Linked DNA regions of Homo sapiens: all the other regions are linked to region 3. The links are contacts of gene promoters, found by promoter capture Hi-C in human tissues and cell types (Jung and others, 2019). All regions are on one chromosome and are shown on one strand. Each heading gives the region's core, a stretch centred on a gene start or on the middle of the fragment in contact. The rest is flanking DNA. Distances are from core to core; before and after follow the strand shown. Region 1 overlaps MAPK14 (mitogen-activated protein kinase 14). Region 2 overlaps MAPK14 (mitogen-activated protein kinase 14). Region 3 holds the start of TEAD3 (TEA domain transcription factor 3).

Region 1 (3,520 bases), core at 593-3,092, 590 kb before region 3:
GTATAGAGAGTTCTGTAGCTATCTATCAGGTCCAGAGCTGAGTTCAAGTCCTGAATATCCTTGTTAATTTTCTGCTTGATGATCTGTCTAATATTGACAGTGGGGTATTAAAGTCTCACACTATTATTGTATGGGAGTCTAAGTCTCTGTGTAGGTCTCTAAGAACTTGGTTTATAAATCTGGGTGCTCCTGTATTAGGTGCATATATATTTAGGATAGTTAGCTTTTCTTGTTGAATTGAGCCCTTTACCACTATGTAATGCCCTTGTCTTTTTTGATATTTGCTGGTTCAAAGTCTGTTTTGTCAGAAAATAGGATTGCAACCCCTGCTTTTTTCTGCTTTCCATTTGCTTGGTAAATTTTCCTCCATCCCTTTATTCTGAGCCTTTGTATGTCTTTGCATGTTAGATGGGTCTCTTGAATACAACAGCATACTGATGGGTCGTGATTCTTTATCCAGCTTGCCGTTCTGTGTTTTTTAATTGGGGCATTTAGCCCACTTACATTTAAGGTTAATATTTTTTATGTGTGAATTTGATCCTATCATCATGATGCTAGCTGGTTATTTTGCAGACTTGTTGAGGTAACTGCTTCATAGTGTTACTGGTAAAAGAAAACAGTGTGTTTCTGTAGTGGCCAGTAAGTTTTTCCTTTCCATATTTAGTGCTTCCTTCAGGAGCTCTTGCAAGACAGGCCTGGTGGTGACGAATTCCCTCAGCATTTGCTTGTCTAAAAAGGATTTTATTTCTTCTTTGACTATGAAGCTTAGTTTGGCCAGATATGAAACTTTGGGTTGGAAATTCTTTAAGAATGTTGAATATTGGCCCCGAATCTCTTCTGGCTTGTAGGGTTTTTGCTGAGGTCCACTCTTAGCCTGATGGGCTTCCCTTTGTAGGTGACCTAGCCTTTCTCTCTGGCTGCCCTTAGTATTTTTTCCTTCATTTCAACCTTGGAGAATCTGATGATTATGTATCTTGGGGTTGATCTTCTCATGGGGTAGCTTACTGGGGTTCTCTAGGGATTTCCTGATTTGAATGCTGGCCTGTCTTGCTAGGTTGGGGAAGTTCTCCTGGCTGATATCCTGAAGTGTGTTTTCCAACTTGTTTCCATTCTCCCCAATTCTTTTAGGTACCCCTATCATTCGCAGGTTCAGTCTTTTTAAATAATCCCATAGTTCTCAAAAGTTTTGTTCATTTCCTTTCATTCTTCTCTTATCTTGTCAGCAAGATAGTCTTCAAGCTCTGAAATTCTTTCCTCCACTTGGTCTATTTGGCTATTGATACTTGTGGTTGCATTATGAAGTTCTCATGTTGTGTTTTTCAGCTCCATCATTTATGTTCCTTTCTAAACTGGTTATTCTGGTTAACAGCTCCTGTAATGTTTTATCATGGTTCTTAGATTCTTTGCATTGGGTTAGAACATGCTCCTTTAGCTCAGTGAAATTCATTATTATCCACCTTCGGAAGTCTACTTCTGTCAATTCATCCATCTCAGCCTCAGCCCACATCTATGCCCTTGCCAGAGAGGTGCTGTGATCATTTGGAGGAAAAGAAGCACTCTGGCTTTTTGAGTTTTCAGCGTTTTTTCATTGATTCTTTCTCATCTTCATGACTTTACCTAGCTTTGAACTTTGAGGCTGCTAACCTTTGGAGGGGTTTTGGTGGGGACCTTTTTGTTGATGTTGTTGTTGCTTTCCATTTGTTTTGCTTTTAACAGTCAGGCCCCTCTTCCATAGGGCTGCTGCAGTTTGCTGGGGGTCCACTCCAGACTCTTTGCCTGGGTCCCTCCTGTACCTGGAGGTGTCACCAGTGGAGACTGCAGAACAGCAAAGATGGCTGCCTGTTCCTTCCTCTGGGAGCTCCGTCCCAGAGGGGCACCAACCTGATGCCAGTGGGAATGCTCTTGCATAAGGTGTCTGGCGACCCCTGTTGGAGGGGTCTCATCCAGTCAAGAGGCACAGGCCCACCTAACGAAGCACTCTGGCTGCCCCTTGGTGGAGGGGGTGTGCTGCACTGGGGGAAATCTCACTCATCCAGACTGCCTGGATTCCTCAGAGCCAGCAAGGGGAAAGACTAACTCTGCTGATCTGTGGAGACTGTGGCCACCCCTCCCACCAGGGGCTCCATCCCAGGGAGATTGGAATTCTGTCTGTAAACCCCTGGCTGGAGTTGCTGAAATTCCCGCAGAGAGGCCCTGCCCCGTGTAGGGGGATGAGTCAGAGTTCAGCCTAAAGAGTCAGTCTGGCCATGATGTGCCACCACCACTGTAGGGTCTGCACTGTAGGGAATTCCTTCTGGGTCCCAACCGCCCAGTCTCTCCAGCACCAGCAGGGGAAAACAGCAGACTGGAGCTGCAGTGATGACAGCAACCCCTCCCCCAAGGAACTCAGTAGTCTTATGTAGTCTCCAGCCAAAGGGCTACCAAGAACCTACACAGCTCTGTGCTTGGGACCCAAGGCCCTGGTGGCATGTGCTCATGAGGGGGATCTCCTGAATCACAGGTTGCACAGATCCTTGGAAAAAGCATGATTTCCTGGACAGGGTAGAACAATCACTCACCACCTCCCTTGGCTTGGGGTGGGAGCTCCCCTTGCCCTTTGCAGCTCCCAGGTGGGCTGTCGCTCCACCCTGCTTTTCCTCACTCTCCATGGGTCATGCCAACCACCTAGTCAGTCCCATTGAGAGAAGGTGAATACCTCAGTTGCCGGTGCAGGATTCACTCACCGTTTTCGTTCTTCTTGTTGGAAGCCTCTGATTGCAGCTATTTCTAGTTGTCCATCTTGTCCCCTCCCCAGTATTTCTTATATCTTTAAAGGAAATCCAGGAATTACTAACAACCAGTACCAAAATAATCTTTCAAGAAGGAGACTAATTACAAAACCCAAGAAAAAGGTAGAACAGGAAGATAACTTGAAGGGATCTAAAAATGCATAAACCAATACCACTAGCCATGTGTAATTAAGTTTCAATGTAATCTAAATAAAATTTTAATGGCATTTAAAATTCAGATTAAAATACTCAGAAAACTGTGAACAGAAGGTGATAGGGTTTGGATGTTTTGTCCCCTCCAAGTATGTTGAAATGTGATCCCCAATGTTGGAGGTGGGGCCTGATTGAAGGTGTTAGGGTCTTGGATCCCTCATGAATGGCTTGGTTCCCTCCCCACATTAATGAGTGAGTTCTCGCTCTATCAGTTCATGCAAATGCTGGTTGTTTAAAAGAGTCTGGCATCTCTCTTGCTCCCTCCTTTGACATGTGACATGCCTGTTCCCCCTACCACCATAAGTGAAAGCTTCCTGAGGTCCTGACCAGAAACAGATGCTGGCACAATGCTTCTTTTACAGCTATGCAACTGTGAGCCAAATAAACCTCTTTTCTTGATAAATTACCTAGTTTCAGGTATTCCTTCATAGCAATGTGAAATGGACTACCAAAGAAGAGAACTTCCCCAACATGATAAAGGGCATTTATGAAAAACCAACAGCTAACATCATACTCAATGGGAAGAGACTGAAAGCTTT
Region 2 (3,710 bases), core at 470-2,969, 560 kb before region 3:
AAAACAATAGAAAAGTTTAAAACTATTTACATTGTTTTACAGTGTTTCCATTGTGATTGTGAAAATCCTCCTATGGAAATAAAACTAAATCATTAGAGATCTGATTTACACATGCAAGAGTTACCTCAAAAGACAAAAGTCAAAACTATTTTCAAATAAAAACTCCAATTTCAAACTGAAAACACAACAGACATTTTGGAACCAAGCAGCTGTAAGTTTGAACCCCAGTATCAGTTTGTGATTTCTTGGGTCCAAGAGCTTATAATTTCTTCATTCCAATAACGCTGGCACTTGGAATGGAGCCTGGCATTCAGCAGGAGTTCAATGAATGGCTGTTATGTAAATAATAATTGGCAAATACATTTGGTATCTTCTCTGAGTCCCATTTTCCTCATATGAAAAACATGAGGACATCATTGCTTATTTTCACAGTACTGACAGCAAGACTGAGCAGACAATGTATCTGAAGGTGCCTAGTACAAAAGGCTGACCCACTGTGGATCATCAAAATAAGTGGTGACCACAGCCCACACAGTTGAATAGACAATTACAAAATACAATATACCTAAGCAAACTATCTGAAGCAGCTACTTCCATTAACAGAATATGAGACATAAAGCTCAACTATTCAAATGATTAAAAACCATGACTGCAAGAAGAAAAATAAAGTAACCTGAAAAAAAATAGAGAAAAGCCAACTAGTAAATACCCTACCAAATTTTAATTTCCTAAAAAGGGCAATATTTACAATATTTAATGTGTTTAACATAAGCACACCGAAAATAACAATTTTGAGATTAAAACTACCCATGCTAAATCAAAGTACTTAAATTTTTGATGGGTTTTTACAAAATATCCCTCACTCCATTAATCATACTTATGAATATTAATCATAAGGAAAATACTGTAAAACAAAAGCTTATCAGCATTAAAATAGATCTGGAAAATATTTTAGGAATCTATTCATTTCTCATTTCTTTTTTTTTTTTTTAATATAATAATAGAGACTGGTTTTTGCCATGTTGCCCAGGCTGGTCTCAAACTTCTGGGTTCAAGCAATCCACCCACCTTGGCCTCCCAAAGTGCTAGGATTACAGGCATGAGCCACTGCGCCCAGCCATTTCTCATTTCTTAAATGGAAATTCCCTTCTAAATCAAGTCATATTTTAGTCTATTTCCTTAACTCCTTCTGCTGTTACATGACTTCAGTCACCTCAAAGTAACCCAGGAATCAAATTTTTAGAAAAGACATTCATAATACAAATAAGCAGCAAATATCTCTAATGATTATCCCATCATGGTCCAAAGCCTGGCAAATATTAAGTCGTATTTTTATTAAATTAGCACACATCCAAAAAAAAATACTTTAACTCAGTATCCAGAGACAATATTTAGCATATTTAACAAAAGCACACCAAAACAATCTCTTGGTCTACAATGGTAAGGTTAAATCTAAGGCTCCCAAATAAAATTTACAAAACAATTTCCTTGATCATTTTTAAATTCTAAAATGTACAGATCTCTAGGCCCATATATGGGCCATCTCTGTAGTGTCTGCCCAGACAGCAAAGGATGCAGCTGGCAGGCTGCCTCCCTTTAATCTTTCCTTAGAGCAGGTGTTAACGAGATCAAGGTCAGAAGTTCAATCAGGAATGGTCCAACTAACTTTGTTCAGAGAGAAACTCTCACAGTCACAGAGGACATCCCCTAGCTTCAGTCACTCACCTAATAAATGTTTATCTATTATTCATGATCACTAACAGAAGAGACAATTCAAGATGAACTACCGATTGTGGGTCAGAGGCATTTTTGTGTAAAAGATCACATGTGCCCTCTGGCACCTGAAAATTGTATTTGTTACCAACACCTAAAATGTTCACAAGTTTTAAGCGCCTGTTGCTGCTGCCTGTGGGAGGTTTGGCCGCTATAAAAATTGGATGGTGACCCAAAACAGTAATTTTTTAAAAAAGAAGAGGAGGGTAAACGAGATGAATTTCTCTGAAAACCCTCAATTAAACTTACCGGAAGTTTTGGTTCTTTATTGGGTAAAACTACTTTGACATTATAAGCACCTAACAAATGTTTTCAAAATAGGCTAAAATGCAGGAATTTTTCTACATTGAGTCAAGTCTTTTGGCTTCAAACATTTGCCAATGGAATAGAGAACTATGAGACATTCAGCCATGTGCCTTATTTTGTTTAAATAACAAATCACTGATATCTAGGTGACCACCAACTGTTAGAACTTAAACATCTTTATATAAAAAAAAGACTGCTAGTAAGCAAGCCACTTATAAAACAATGTATAGAAATTAAAATCCTATTTTTCTAATACCATGATCCCTAAACATTGGCTTAACATATTTATGAAGAAAAGCAAAACAATCAGTGTAGCACTGATAATCTCCTAAACCAGATGTTCTTAAATTAGCATAGCCACATCAATAGGATCCTAGTGGCTCCCAAAGGTGCTCTGGGGTTCCATAAATGTTTGGCTTGCATTTCACTTTCAAAATATCCTTTATACTTGCAAAGCTGTGACACTGTCTCTGTCACATATAATAATGTGTAATGAAAAACAGCATACACACTTAAATGTGTTAAAAATCAAACGCAAACACATCCCTTAAAGCTGCCAGGCCACTTTGATTTTATGCAGACCTAGGAATAAAGTTTCTGCTGCCAGCTTTTTCCGCATATCTCAACTTCTTGTAAACATGTCACTGATTAGGAAGGCTGCAGCTTCACACTGAACATTCTTAAAACTCTGGTTTGCACATAGCTACTTAAGTAAAATTATACTCAGGAATAGAAGTTGTCTGTAGAAATAGGATTTCCTCAATAGCATACAATCAAAATAAAATGTGAAAATAAAAAGCAGCAGCTGTGATTATAATGGCATCCATAATCCAATTACAAATTTAAGTCTTAATGTTCTCAATTTAGAAGAAATTTGCACTAATGAAACAAATGTACGCTAATGAAGAGTCACTTATCTGTGACTTTTTTCTCGCTATGAAGAAGTTAAATTACTAAAACAGTCTAAATAGTCAAATAATAAATTCACAGATTTTGAATTTTCTTCCACAAGGTAACAAGCAGTACAGCCAGAGGACTTTGAAATCTCTATGGCCATTGTTTCCACAATGCTACAAACTTCACAGTACCCTTCATATAGCAGTCACAGAAATTCATAACTTGATTTTGAAATTCAGTAAAATAAGTGTCTTCAGTCAACTGTCTTTTTACTTTCAGTTAGTATTCCAATTATATCCACTTATTTATCGTATTAGAATTTGTAAGCATCTTTGCAGAATGGCAACTGAATCAACAAATTGGTAAAAAAGAAAAAGTTATATTTAACTTAAACAATGCCTCTGACATATTTATTAAAATACGTGAATCTGGAAAAAAAGAAAAATTATTAACAAATATATAAAATAATAGCCATCTCTGATAGGACTTTCAGTGAGCCTAAGGCACTCTTTCTCAGATTTTTCCACTTAAAAATATTAAGGCTATATTATGAGAATATGGGAGTCTGTGGCTATTTTGTCTTTTAATAGCCACAGACTCCCATATTCTCATAATATAGCCTTAGGAAAACCAGGCAAAGAATACATAACTTCTTTTTAATATTTTCTCTTAAAAATTATTGTGAATTTTGTGTTGTATTTCATAACATATCCTTTAATTTTAAAATTTTAAAG
Region 3 (3,480 bases), core at 1-2,500:
GACCCCAGCAGCCCCTCAGCGCCCCCAGAGCCCGTCAGCGTGGGGGAAAGGATTCAGTGGAGGCTGGCAGGGTCCCTCCAGCAAAGCTCCCGCGGAAAACTGCTCCTGTGTCGGGGCTGACCTCTCACTGCCTCTCGGTGACCTCCGTCCTCTCCCCAGCCTGGCACAGGCCGAGGCAGGAGGAGCCCGGACGGCGGGTAGGACGGAGATGAAGAACATCTGGAGTTGGAGCCGCACATCTGGTCTCGGAGCTCGCCTGCGCCGCTGTGCCCCCCTCCTCCCCGCGCCCCAGTCACTTCCTGTCCGGGAGCAGTAGTCATTGTTGTTTTAACCTCCCCTCTCCCCGGGACCGCGCTAGGGCTCCGAGGAGCTGGGGCGGGCTAGGAGGAGGGGGTAGGTGATGGGGGACGAGGGCCAGGCACCCACATCCCCAATAAAGCCGCGTCCTTGGCCAAGCGGAGCGGTGGTTCCTCAGCGCGTGCGGAGAACGAGGCGGCAGGAGGCGTCCGAGGCGCGAGCTGGAAGTCTCAACCCCCGTCCCACTCCTGCCCAGGCCCCGGGCGCTCCCGCGTCCCCTCCCCGCGCCCGTCGCGGGTCCTACCGAAACTCGGCGGCCGCACAGCGTCGAGACGCCCCCCGTGGGGGCCCGGGGAGCCGGGGCGAAAGGGAGGGTCCCGGAGGTCGGGGAAGAGGGAGAAAGGGAGAAGAAATTCGAGAAACTAGCCACGCGGGGAGAACCAGACAAACCGGGTCCCGGCAGGGCGGGCGCAGCCGCCAGGGCGGAGCCGGGTCTGGGGCCCCGGGAGTGGGGGGCAGGCCCGCGAGCTGGAGGGTACGCTCCGCCTTGGCGGCTCGGGACTAGGGTGGAGGGGCCGGGAGCCCCGGGGCCCGTGCGCTCCGGCTCTGCCGGGCTCCTCGTGACGCGGCACCCACGGCCCCCGGCACCGACGGGAGCCCTGCCCGCGAGGCGAGGGCTCCGCCCTCGGCCCCGCCCCAGGCCGGAGCCCCAAATTCCGGCGGGTGCCCGGGAGCGGGGCGAGGCCCGGAGCGCAGGGGGAGGAAGGCAGCTCCGCACGGGCGGGCGAGGAGCGGGGCGCCCAGGCGCGCGCCAGCCGGGGTGGCCGGGTCGCGAGGCCGCGGGGTAGGCGGCCCGAGCGCGGCTGGACGGCCCCGCCCCTCCCGGCCAGCACCGCCCCCTGCGCGCCCCGCCCCCTCCTTCCCGCAGCCCCCACCCCCGCCCCGGCTCCTCAACACAAACTTTCCGTCCCGCTCGCTCCCTCCTCCGCGCTCGGCGCCTCCCGCTCCAGCCCGGCTCATTCCGCACATTCCGGCCAGCCCCCTCCCCACGACCCCCCTTCCCCGGCCCCCCTTGCGGCTCCCTCGGGCCCGGCGGAGCGGCCCGGCCGGAGCGCCCCCGCGAGCTCGGACCAGGTAAGCCGGGCGGACGCCGGGAGGAGGCCCCGCTCGGGAGAGGTGGTTTGGTTGGTCGGCTGGGCTGGCTGGGGGGGCGACACTCGAGGGGGACTGGGTCCCCGAGCTATTGTCCAGCCGGAGCTGGAGCCCCGGATCGGGGTGCCGGGAAGTTTAGAGGGAAGGGGGAAAATCTCTCCGGGAAGCCCCGCCCCCCGCCCTCCCCACCCCCCCGCGACGGGGACGAGTTGGTCCGGGAAGGTGGGGAAGCCGGGGAGACCGTGTCCCCTGTGCCGTCGCCTGTCCCGCCGTCCGTGCTTGGGGGGTCGGGGCGGGGATCCGGGGGCCGCACAGTGTGGAGGGCCTGCCTGCCACCCTGGAGCTCATATCCGGGGCGCCCAGTCCCGGGCCCCGCCGCCCTTTGGACTCCCGGCCCGCGCGCTCCCGGAGCCCGCCCGGCCTCAGCTCCACGCAGGCCTCGGGCCCGGCCTCCCAGCGCCCAGGCCGGTTTCTGCGCGCGGTGCCGCGGCTGCGCTGGGTTGTGGAGGGTGTCTGGGACCAAAGCCGCGCGCCCCGGCCGTGTGTCCCCTGAGAGGCAGGGAGGGGCTCACGTTCCCTTCAGTTCTGCCGCCTGCGTCGGGGTGCTGATTCAGAGTTCCAGCCCTGAGCGCTGTGAGCTTGGCTCGGAGGGGTCTGGATTTGGGGCCTTTTCTTCCCCACACTTGCTCAGGGCCCTTGTTTAGACTTGACAAGGTTTGAGGGTGGCTGGTCTCCCGCTTCCTACCCCGGTCCCCACCATTGTCTGTCATGCCCTTTATTCCTGCTAGGGGAGGGAGGGCTGGGAGCGCTGGTCTGGATCTGTTTTCCAGCCCAGCTGGGCCCTGGGGCAGTGTCATTGAGACCCCGCTCTGTCAACTTTCCTGGTGAGGGGCCCTGATCCAGGGCTGAGAGATTCTTTCAGTGCGAGGGGGAAGGAGGCCTTGGGGCGGACTTCTCAGGGGCTGTCTTCTTCTGTGTCTTCCCTCTTTCCAGGTAGGGGCAGAACCAGGTCAGGCCTGGACTTGTTGTCCGGAAGAACAGGGCATAGGGGTAGGGGCTGGACACAGCTCAGAGGGGCTGGTGCCCATAGCGGCTCTGCGTATCCAGTCTCTTGTGGCCTGGTTCTCTGTACACATGTTCCACCCCAGTGCTGGGGCCACCTGGGGCAAGGAGGGGAGGCTTTCCTCAAAAGTTGGAGATTTGGGGGAATTATGTCCTCTCCCTTCTAGACTCCTGTAGCCCCCCTCCCACCAAGACCCCTCTCGTAGGGGCACTCCCTAAAGGATGTGGTTCTGTGGTCTTCTGGGTCCCTGCTCACCCAGTGGGCAGAGTGCACAGATCTTCCAGGACAAGGCTGTCCAGTAAGGGTAACTTCAGGGGCCCTGGATGCCCCCTCCTCAGGGAGAGGGTAGGAGCCAGTATGAGTCCCAAGCTCTTGGGCCTTCCCCTACCCCCCCAGGGAGGGAACGTCATTAATGCTAATGAGCGCATCTGGGCTGGGGAATGGCTTGTTAGAGTGGTCAGTGGTTGCCAGGACAGAGCAGCACATTAAGTGTACAGAAGCATCACATGGGTCCTGAGCCCTGCTCCCATCCTCACCCAAAGGTTTGTAGACCCTGGCACTTTCTGCCAACTGAAGGAATGTTAAAACCGGGAGGATTTGATATTCTCAACAATATCAAAGGAGAAGATATCTCAACAGAGGTGGTCAAGAAATAGGGATCTGGTCCCCTCCGGACCTTTAACCAGTTGCGCCATCTTGGCAGGCCCCTTTGGGCCTCAGTTTCCCTGCTTGGAATGAATGACTTCTCAAGTCCCTTTTCTCTGAGCTCCTCCCAGAGTCTGTCTCCCAGTTTGCCTTCCTTCTCCCATGATGGAACCTGAACTTGGTGGGGTCTGGAGAGGCGGGTGGGTGATCCAGTGGCCCAAAGAAGAAGGCAAGGACAAACCAAGGGGTGACTGAGGAGTAGCTCAGCCAGATGAACAGGGCTGAAAAGGTGGCGGGGGGCAGGTGTCAAGGGACAGGGGGGC

The links. The method cuts DNA at HindIII sites, captures the fragments that hold promoters and counts their contacts. A contact is called where the count stands out against the background at its distance.
Region 1: a fragment that was not itself captured here is called in contact with the fragment with the promoter of TEAD3 in region 3 in 2 of the 25 tissues and cell types used here (adrenal gland and dorsolateral prefrontal cortex).
Region 2: a fragment that was not itself captured here is called in contact with the fragment with the promoter of TEAD3 in region 3 in 1 of the 25 tissues and cell types used here (liver).

What each region holds. Positions count from the first base shown.
Region 1 is chr6:36,082,317-36,085,836 of GRCh38, reverse strand. All of the region lies in intron 8 of MAPK14 (mitogen-activated protein kinase 14), which reads right to left. Among named protein-coding and RNA genes, the nearest start is that of MAPK13, 46 kb to the left of the region's middle. The HindIII fragment of the contact is 4,015 bases long and covers 1-3,520 here.
Region 2 is chr6:36,053,059-36,056,768 of GRCh38, reverse strand. All of the region lies in intron 2 of MAPK14 (mitogen-activated protein kinase 14), which reads right to left. Among named protein-coding and RNA genes, the nearest start is that of MAPK14, 27 kb to the right of the region's middle. The HindIII fragment of the contact is 5,870 bases long and covers 1-3,710 here.
Region 3 is chr6:35,494,849-35,498,328 of GRCh38, reverse strand. TEAD3 (TEA domain transcription factor 3) reads left to right here and starts at 1,250. Exons shown (of 13, transcript NM_003214.4): 1 at 1,250-1,431. It overlaps TULP1 (TUB like protein 1), which reads left to right. Exons shown (of 15, transcript NM_003322.6): 15 at 1-455. The coding sequence ends at 2. It overlaps LOC124901309 (a long non-coding RNA gene), which reads right to left and starts at 196. Exons shown (of 2, transcript XR_007059561.1): 1 at 122-196. RefSeq lists enhancers at 1-343, 344-1,274, 2,221-3,006 and silencers at 743-1,072, 1,083-1,212, 1,393-1,442. The HindIII fragment of the contact is 31,199 bases long and covers 1-3,480 here.